2 separate regions of the Homo sapiens genome follow, and region 1 is linked to region 2. The links are contacts of gene promoters, found by promoter capture Hi-C in human tissues and cell types (Jung and others, 2019). All regions are on one chromosome and are shown on one strand. Each heading gives the region's core, a stretch centred on a gene start or on the middle of the fragment in contact. The rest is flanking DNA. Distances are from core to core; before and after follow the strand shown.

Region 1 (3,593 bases), core at 15-2,514, 500 kb after region 2:
TGTGAAATGGGGGGATGTGATTTCCATGTCCAGGGAGGCTTCCAGGAGCCTTTTGGAAAAGTATACAGCCCACAGCAGGCACTACGTGCTCAGGAGTGAGGAGCTGGGTTTTCTATTCCCTGCAGCACAGTCACTCCCAGTCCCCTGCCCCTTTTACCCTCCCTCCTGTCTTCCAAACTCTGTCGCCATCCTGGGATGGGCCCTTGTCCCTCAGCCCAGGCCAGACCCCCCACGCTCAATGCTTTGGGACTTCCCCTTCCCTCCCTCCTCTCCTGTCTCATGTCCTGGGCTGTTTCCTGTGTGTGTTTGTGTTTGGGCATCTCTGTCCCTTCTCCCTTCCCTGGGAACATTGGGAATCTTTGGGAAGGCCTGGGGGGAAGGGGTACGTCCATGGAATGGTCTGGCCTTCCTCCTTTAACTCCTTCCTTCCTGGGTCCCCCTATCCCACGCAGCTGTTTCTCTAAGGTTTTTACTTGCTACCCTGCTGAACTCCTCCTCTGGCCACCTCTGATGTCCACCCTCTAGGGTCTCTGTTTGTAGCATAGTCCAAAGAGCTGTTTAAGTCGATGGCCCTGGGCACATGACCCAATTGCTCCGTGCCTCAGTTTCCCCATCTGTATAAAAGGGACAGTTTCCTGGGGCTAAGGCAGGCGCAGTTGCCGTCACTGTTAGTAGGTGGGAGGCGGAGGGGGCAGCTACTCTGATTGACGGGCCGCCCCTCTCTTTCCTTTGCAGGAGTACGCCTCCCATCTCCCATCCTGCGCCTCCAGGGCTCCCGATGCCCCTTGCCCAGCCCGACTGGGCCCCAGTGTCCCGGCCTCCCAGCCCCTCCTCCCCTCCACCCTCCAGGCCCTCAGTCGCGGCCCCATTTCCTGTCGTGGGCGAGGCCCCCTCCCGGGCCTCCCAAGGAGCCCGCAGCGCTGGCATCCCCGGCCAGCAGCACATAACGGTCCGCGCCCCCCTCCCTCCCAGCCCCTTCCTTCCAGGACCCCTACCCTCCCCTGGCTGGAGGCACCCCAGTCTGCAGCGGGGTGCGGGGGGCTCCCCCTGATCCCCCCCACCGTCTGTCCTCGGGGCCCTGGGACCCCGCTCCCAGGCCGGGTGGGGCTCGGCGCCCCCTGTTCCCCACCGATCTCCGCTTACCGCGCTCCTTGGCGTCCGACTTTTTCCGGGGAAGTTTCTCCCGGCCCCGCAGGCGGGAGAAGGTTTTCCTGAGTAGCGGCTCGGCCATGCTGCGGCCCGGGCCGGGCCGAGCCGAGTGCGCGCCCCGGGCTCCGGCCGCGCCGCCCCGCGCCCTCCCCGCCCCGCCCGGGCCTCCCCGCCCGCCCCCCGCCCCGCGCCAGCAGGAAGCACATTCCGGGAATGCTTGGCCCAAACTTTTTTTTTTTTTCCCCTTTCCCGCGGCCCGAGCGGGCGATGCTGGGAGATGTAGTTGCCTGGGGCCGGGAGGGGTTGGAATGGGGGCTCCGGGTGCCCGGATCCGCTCCAGCTTCGATGGGACGTGACGATCGTGGCGCAGGCCCGATCCCTTGTCTTCCACCTCACCCACCCTCCCTGGATGGGACTCTGGGTGATGGCATCCAGGAAGTTCTCTTGGGTCTGTCTCCAAATCGCAGCCTCCACGTATCCTCTCTCTCCTTGCCAGGTACTGCTTCAACCTGGTGCAAGCCGTAGTGTCATTCGTTTCAATGACCGTCCCCACTACCCACCCCACCCCAAGCTTCTTCCTTGGTCTCCCCATGCCACTCTTTCCCCACTCAATTCTCTCACCTCCAAATTCCAATTACTACTGCTGTTTGACAAACCATCCCCAAACGTAATGATGTAAAACAACCATGTCGTGATTGTGAAAGGAAAATAAATCTTGAGACCTCCAAATCACTGAGCCAAAAGGAAGAAGTCAAACTGGTAACTGTGTAGGACAAACCTGCCTCCCATTCTATTCCTAAGTAAGATAGCTACAAGGTTAAAAAAGCTAGCTGGGCGCGGTGGCTCACTCCTGTAATCCTAGCACTTTGGGAGGCTGAGGCGACGGATCACTTGAGGTCAGGAGTTCGAAACCAGGCTGGCCAACATGGTGAAACTCCATCTCTACTAAAAATATGAAAAAGAAAAAAAATTGGCCAGGCATGGTGGGTGGGCACTGGTAATCCCAGCTATTTGGGAGGCTGAGGCAGGAAAATTGCTTGAACACGGGAGGTGGAGGTTGCAGTGAATCAAAATTGCACCACTGCACTCTAGCCTGGTCATCAGAGCAAGATGCCGTCTAAAAAAAAAGAAGAAAAGAAAAGAAAAAAAAAGCTACATACCTCCCCCACAATTTGCCTACAAGGAAATTCCTTATGGATGAAGGACAGGCAGAACTCAAAATTGTCCCTCTGCTCACATGAGACAAACACATATCTGATCGCTTCCTTACCTATTTGTTTCACTAAGCCAGACTAAGGCATAAGTGACTATCTCTGTAAATTGCATATTCAGAAAGGCTAGTCAGAAACTCGAAAGAATGCAATTGTTTCTCTCTTATCCACCTATAACCTGGAAGCCTTCTCCCTACTTTTGAGTTGTCCTGCCTTCCCAGACCAAACCCATGTGCATCTTACATATATTGATTGCTGTCTCATGTCTCCCTAAAATATATAAAACTAGACCAAGGTGGAGTGCAGTGGTACCACCACAGCTCACTGCAGTCTCAGCCTCTTGGGCTCAAGTGATGCTCCTGCCTCAGCCTCCCGAGCAAGTGGGACTATAGGCATGTGTCACCATACCTGGCTAATTTCCCTACTTTTTGTAGAGATAGAGTCTCATCATGTTGCCCAGACTGGTCTCAAACTCCTGGGCTCGGCTGGGTGCGGTGGCTCACGCCTCTAATCCCAGCACTGTGGGAGGCCAAGGCGGGCGGATCACCTGAGGTTGGGAGTTCGAGACCAGCCTGACCAACATGGGGAAACCCCTTCTCTACTAAAAACACAAAATTAGCTGGGGGTGGTGGTGCATGCCTATAATCCCAGCTACTCGGGAGGCTGAGGCAGGAGAATCTCTTGAACCCGGGAGGCGGAGGTTGCAGGGAGCCAATATTGTGTCACTGCATTCCAGCCTGGGCAACAAGAGTGAAACTCCGTCTCAAAAAAACAAAACAAAAAAACAAAACAAAACAAAAAACCCTCCTGGTCTCAAGTGATCTGCCCGCCTTGGCCTACCAAGTAGCTAGGATTACAGACCTGAATCAAGGTAGTGGCCCTGACTACCCTAGTTTATGTTGTCAGGAGCTTCTAAGTCTGTGTCACAGGCATGTCCATAACCTTGGCAAAATAAGCTTTCTAAATTTATTGAGACTTATCTGAGATACCTTTTGGTTTACATGATGCTCACAGATGCTGTGGTTCAGTTTGGACAGGGGAGACTTAGGCTAGAGGGTGACTAAAAAATGGCAGGGTCCTGAGTCATCTGGAGGTGTCTTCACTCAGAGGTCTTGCAACTGACGCCAGCTGTTGCTGGGGCTGTGGACCAGGGTAGCTACACAGGCCTCTCCGTGTGGTTCGGGTTTCCTTCCAGCATGGTGGTCTTGGGGTAGTCAGACTTCTTAGACAGCC
Region 2 (3,290 bases), core at 517-3,016:
TGGGAAAACAGAAGCTGGTGCTTCTCTGCAGGGGCCCTTCCACCCCTACCCAGAGTGGGGCAGTGGGAAAGTGCACCAGACCACAGAGTGACCAGCCTCAGTCACCACCCATCAATTCCTAAGCCTAAGTCTTCACATCTGACAAATGTGTCTCCTAAAGCATCACAAAGCATTGCCAGCATTCTATCAGACACAGGGAGAGAGAGCAGAGAATAAGTTCCAAATTAAAGATGTGAGTAATGGTCCCATCAATATAAAAAACGTACGAGTGTATGTGTATGTGTCTGTATGTACACATGTGTATGCACACTGAAAAAAATCCAGAAGAATGCACATACCACGATGGAATTGGAGAAATTACAATTGGAGTAGAAACCTTTTAACTTTCTACACGTCTCTGTTGCTTCGTTTTTCAAGCTGGGATGCTATAAATGTAATAATTAAAACAATTTTTTTTTTCCTCTGAAGTCCTTGTCCTTTATTGGGCAAGGGGTGAGGGAAGCAGACAGACCGGTTGGACACAGTAGATGGGTGTGTGAGGACAAAATGCTACCAGAAAGCCAGCCAATCCACACTCCCCTGAAATGGATGCTAACGCCCTTCAAACCCTGGGCATTGGTTTCATACACAGCCTCTTCCAGGGATAAAAGGGGTTCTTGTACAGCTTCTTGTTACCCTCAACCATGGAGGCAAGTTCTGAGTTCTGGTTTTCCTAGGACACTAACTCTAGTCACAAAGATCTCTGGAGTGATCACACATGGTGGAGTGGCAGGGTGAATATTTCAAAAGGATAAGTAGAACAGGAGTCTTGCCCAAGCCCTGTCATGTCAGTGTCTGTGTGTGGCCTCCCAGCCCAACCAGAAATTGACAGAGAGGCATGTATATGGTGAAAAGATATATATATATATATTCAGAATTAGGCAGCTGCACTCAGTTTAGATAATCCCAATTTTGTTGGCAACATCCAAAGCATCGTAATCAGGAGTCAGTCGAACATATACCTTCTTCTCTCCATCAGGCCGAATCAGGGTGTTGACCTTGGCCACATCAATGTCATAGAGCTTCTTCACAGCCTGTTTGATCTGGTGCTTGTTGGCTTTAACATCCACAATGAACACAAGTGTGTTGTTGTCTTCTATCTTCTTCATGGCAGACTCAGTGGTCAGCGGAAACTTGATGATAGCATAGTGGTCAAGCTTGTTTCTCCTGGGAGCGCTCTTCCGAGGATATTTGGGCTGTCTCCGGAGTCGCAGTGTCTTCGGCCGCCGGAAGGTGGGTGACGTGTGGATCTTCTTTTTGTGGCTGTGGACACCTTTCAACACTGCCTTCTTGGCCTTTAAAGCCTTCGCTTTGGCTTCGGCTTTAGGAGGGGCAGGAGCTTCCTTCTTCACTTTCGGCACCATCTTGTGAAAAGGGTCCAAAACAAATTTTTTTAAATAAATAAGGATTTGGTACAGTGGGGACACAGTTGATCCACAACATAGGTGAGTAGTTCTGTTTCGTTTTGTTTTGTTTTGCTTTGCTTTGTTTTTTGAGACAGAGTCTCACTTTGTCACCCAGGCTGGAGGGCAATGGTGCCAATCTCGGCTCACTGAAACCTCCGCCCCACCAGGTTCAAGCGATTATCCTACCTCAGCCTCCCGAGCAGCTGAGATTACAGGCATGAGCCACCACACCCAGCTAATTTTTGTATTTTTAGTAGAGACAGGGTTTCACCATATTGGCCAGGCTGGTCTCCAACTCCTGACCTCAAGTGATCCAACCACCTCGGCCTCCCAAAGTGCTGGGATTACAGGCGTGAGCCACTGCGCCCAGCCAATAGGTGAGTTGTTCTTACTGTGTCACCATGAAGACCCAGCTCCCAGGAATCGGCCTGCAGTCTCCCTAGAACAAGCACACGGGCTGCCCACTAGCTGGAGTTTCACCTTCCCTGTCCTTGAATGCTCAGGAAGGAACACATTCTGGCTTCAGCACAACTGAGTTCAAGTCCAGGCTCTGCCACTCACTAGCTGTGTAACCCTCTGAGTCTCATAGCCTCCTCGATAAAATGCAAAGGTCAAGTTCTAACTTTTAGGTAATTAGTTTCTCAACAACAAACTTCACATGAACACTTAAATGGTAGCAGGCATGGTGCTAGGACCTGGGACACAGGTTGAACAAGACAGACGTGGTCTCTGCTGATAACCTACCAGTCACATTAGTCCCAATTAGCCCCCGGAAAAGATCTCTTGATGCATGGGTTACATCCTGTTCCTGAGTAAAGAATCTTGTGAGTTCCTCAAATCTTATCTTTAATTACTCAGATCTTATGAGTTCTTCCAACTGTTGATGTTCTGATTTTCCACTGATATGGAAAAGCACAATCCTTTGTTTCTAAACCATGAAGTTTTGCTTTATATTTATAAATCATAAAGTTTTTCTTTTCTTTTCTTTTTTTTTTTGAGACAGGGTCTTTGTCACCCAGGCTGGAGTGCAGTGGCGCAGTCTCATCTTACTGCAACCTCCATCTCCTAGGTTCAAGCAACCTTCCTGCCTCAGCCTCTCGAGTTGTTGGGATTGCAGGCATGTGCCACCATGCCCAGCTAATTTTTGTATTTTTAGTAGAGCAGAGTTTCACCATATTGGCTAGGCTGGTCTCGAACTACTGGCCTCAGGAGCGATGAGCTTCTCCTCAAGGGATCTGCCCGTCTCAACCTCCCAAAGTGCTGGGATTACAGGCATAAGCCACTGTGCCCTCTCTTATAAAGTTTCACTGATGGTTTTACATACAAAATGTTTTAGCCTGTATGTTATAACCTGTATCTAATCATTATGACCTCTGTATTATACCCTCCAATAAAAACAGACAATTCTGATATAAGAAGTTCCCTTCTCTTCTCCTAAACTTTCTTATAAAAACATTCCAAATTGTAAAAGATTCTGGCACACATCCAAATGTGTTGGTGCATCTTTCTGGGTTGATCCTCACCTTTGGCTTCAAATAAACCCTTATCAAAGTATTTCTGCCTCGGCAGCTTTAATTTCACTCCACAAAATGATGTAGTCATCAGTGTTTCAGAGTGGCCTCCCTGGTCACCCTGGACCTTCCTGAGCAGGTTTCAACCTTCATGCACGGAATCCATCGTGTTCCCCCAACTGGGATGCCCCTGCTGGATGCAACAGATAAGTTTCTCCTGAAATCAACGAACTTCCTGTTTTAGGCAAAGTTCTGCCTTATTGAAGCTGCTTTCCCCCTTGGCTAGGAGGTGCAGTGATGTTCTCAGAATAAGAGCTACTGCTACAAATTTAAG

What was found. The method cuts DNA at HindIII sites, captures the fragments that hold promoters and counts their contacts. A contact is called where the count stands out against the background at its distance.
Region 1: the fragment with the promoter of SYDE1 here is called in contact with a fragment that was not itself captured in region 2 in 3 of the 25 tissues and cell types used here (dorsolateral prefrontal cortex, lymphoblastoid cells and spleen).

The regions. Positions count from the first base shown.
Region 1 is chr19:15,105,072-15,108,664 of GRCh38, reverse strand. It overlaps SYDE1 (synapse defective Rho GTPase activating protein 1), which reads right to left and starts at 1,264. Exons shown (of 8, transcript NM_033025.6): 1 at 1,144-1,264. The coding sequence starts at 1,231. The HindIII fragment of the contact is 3,798 bases long and covers 1-2,518 here.
Region 2 is chr19:15,609,769-15,613,058 of GRCh38, reverse strand. It overlaps the pseudogene RPL23AP2. Among named protein-coding and RNA genes, the nearest start is that of CYP4F8, 3.8 kb to the left of the region's middle. The HindIII fragment of the contact is 7,491 bases long and covers 1-3,290 here.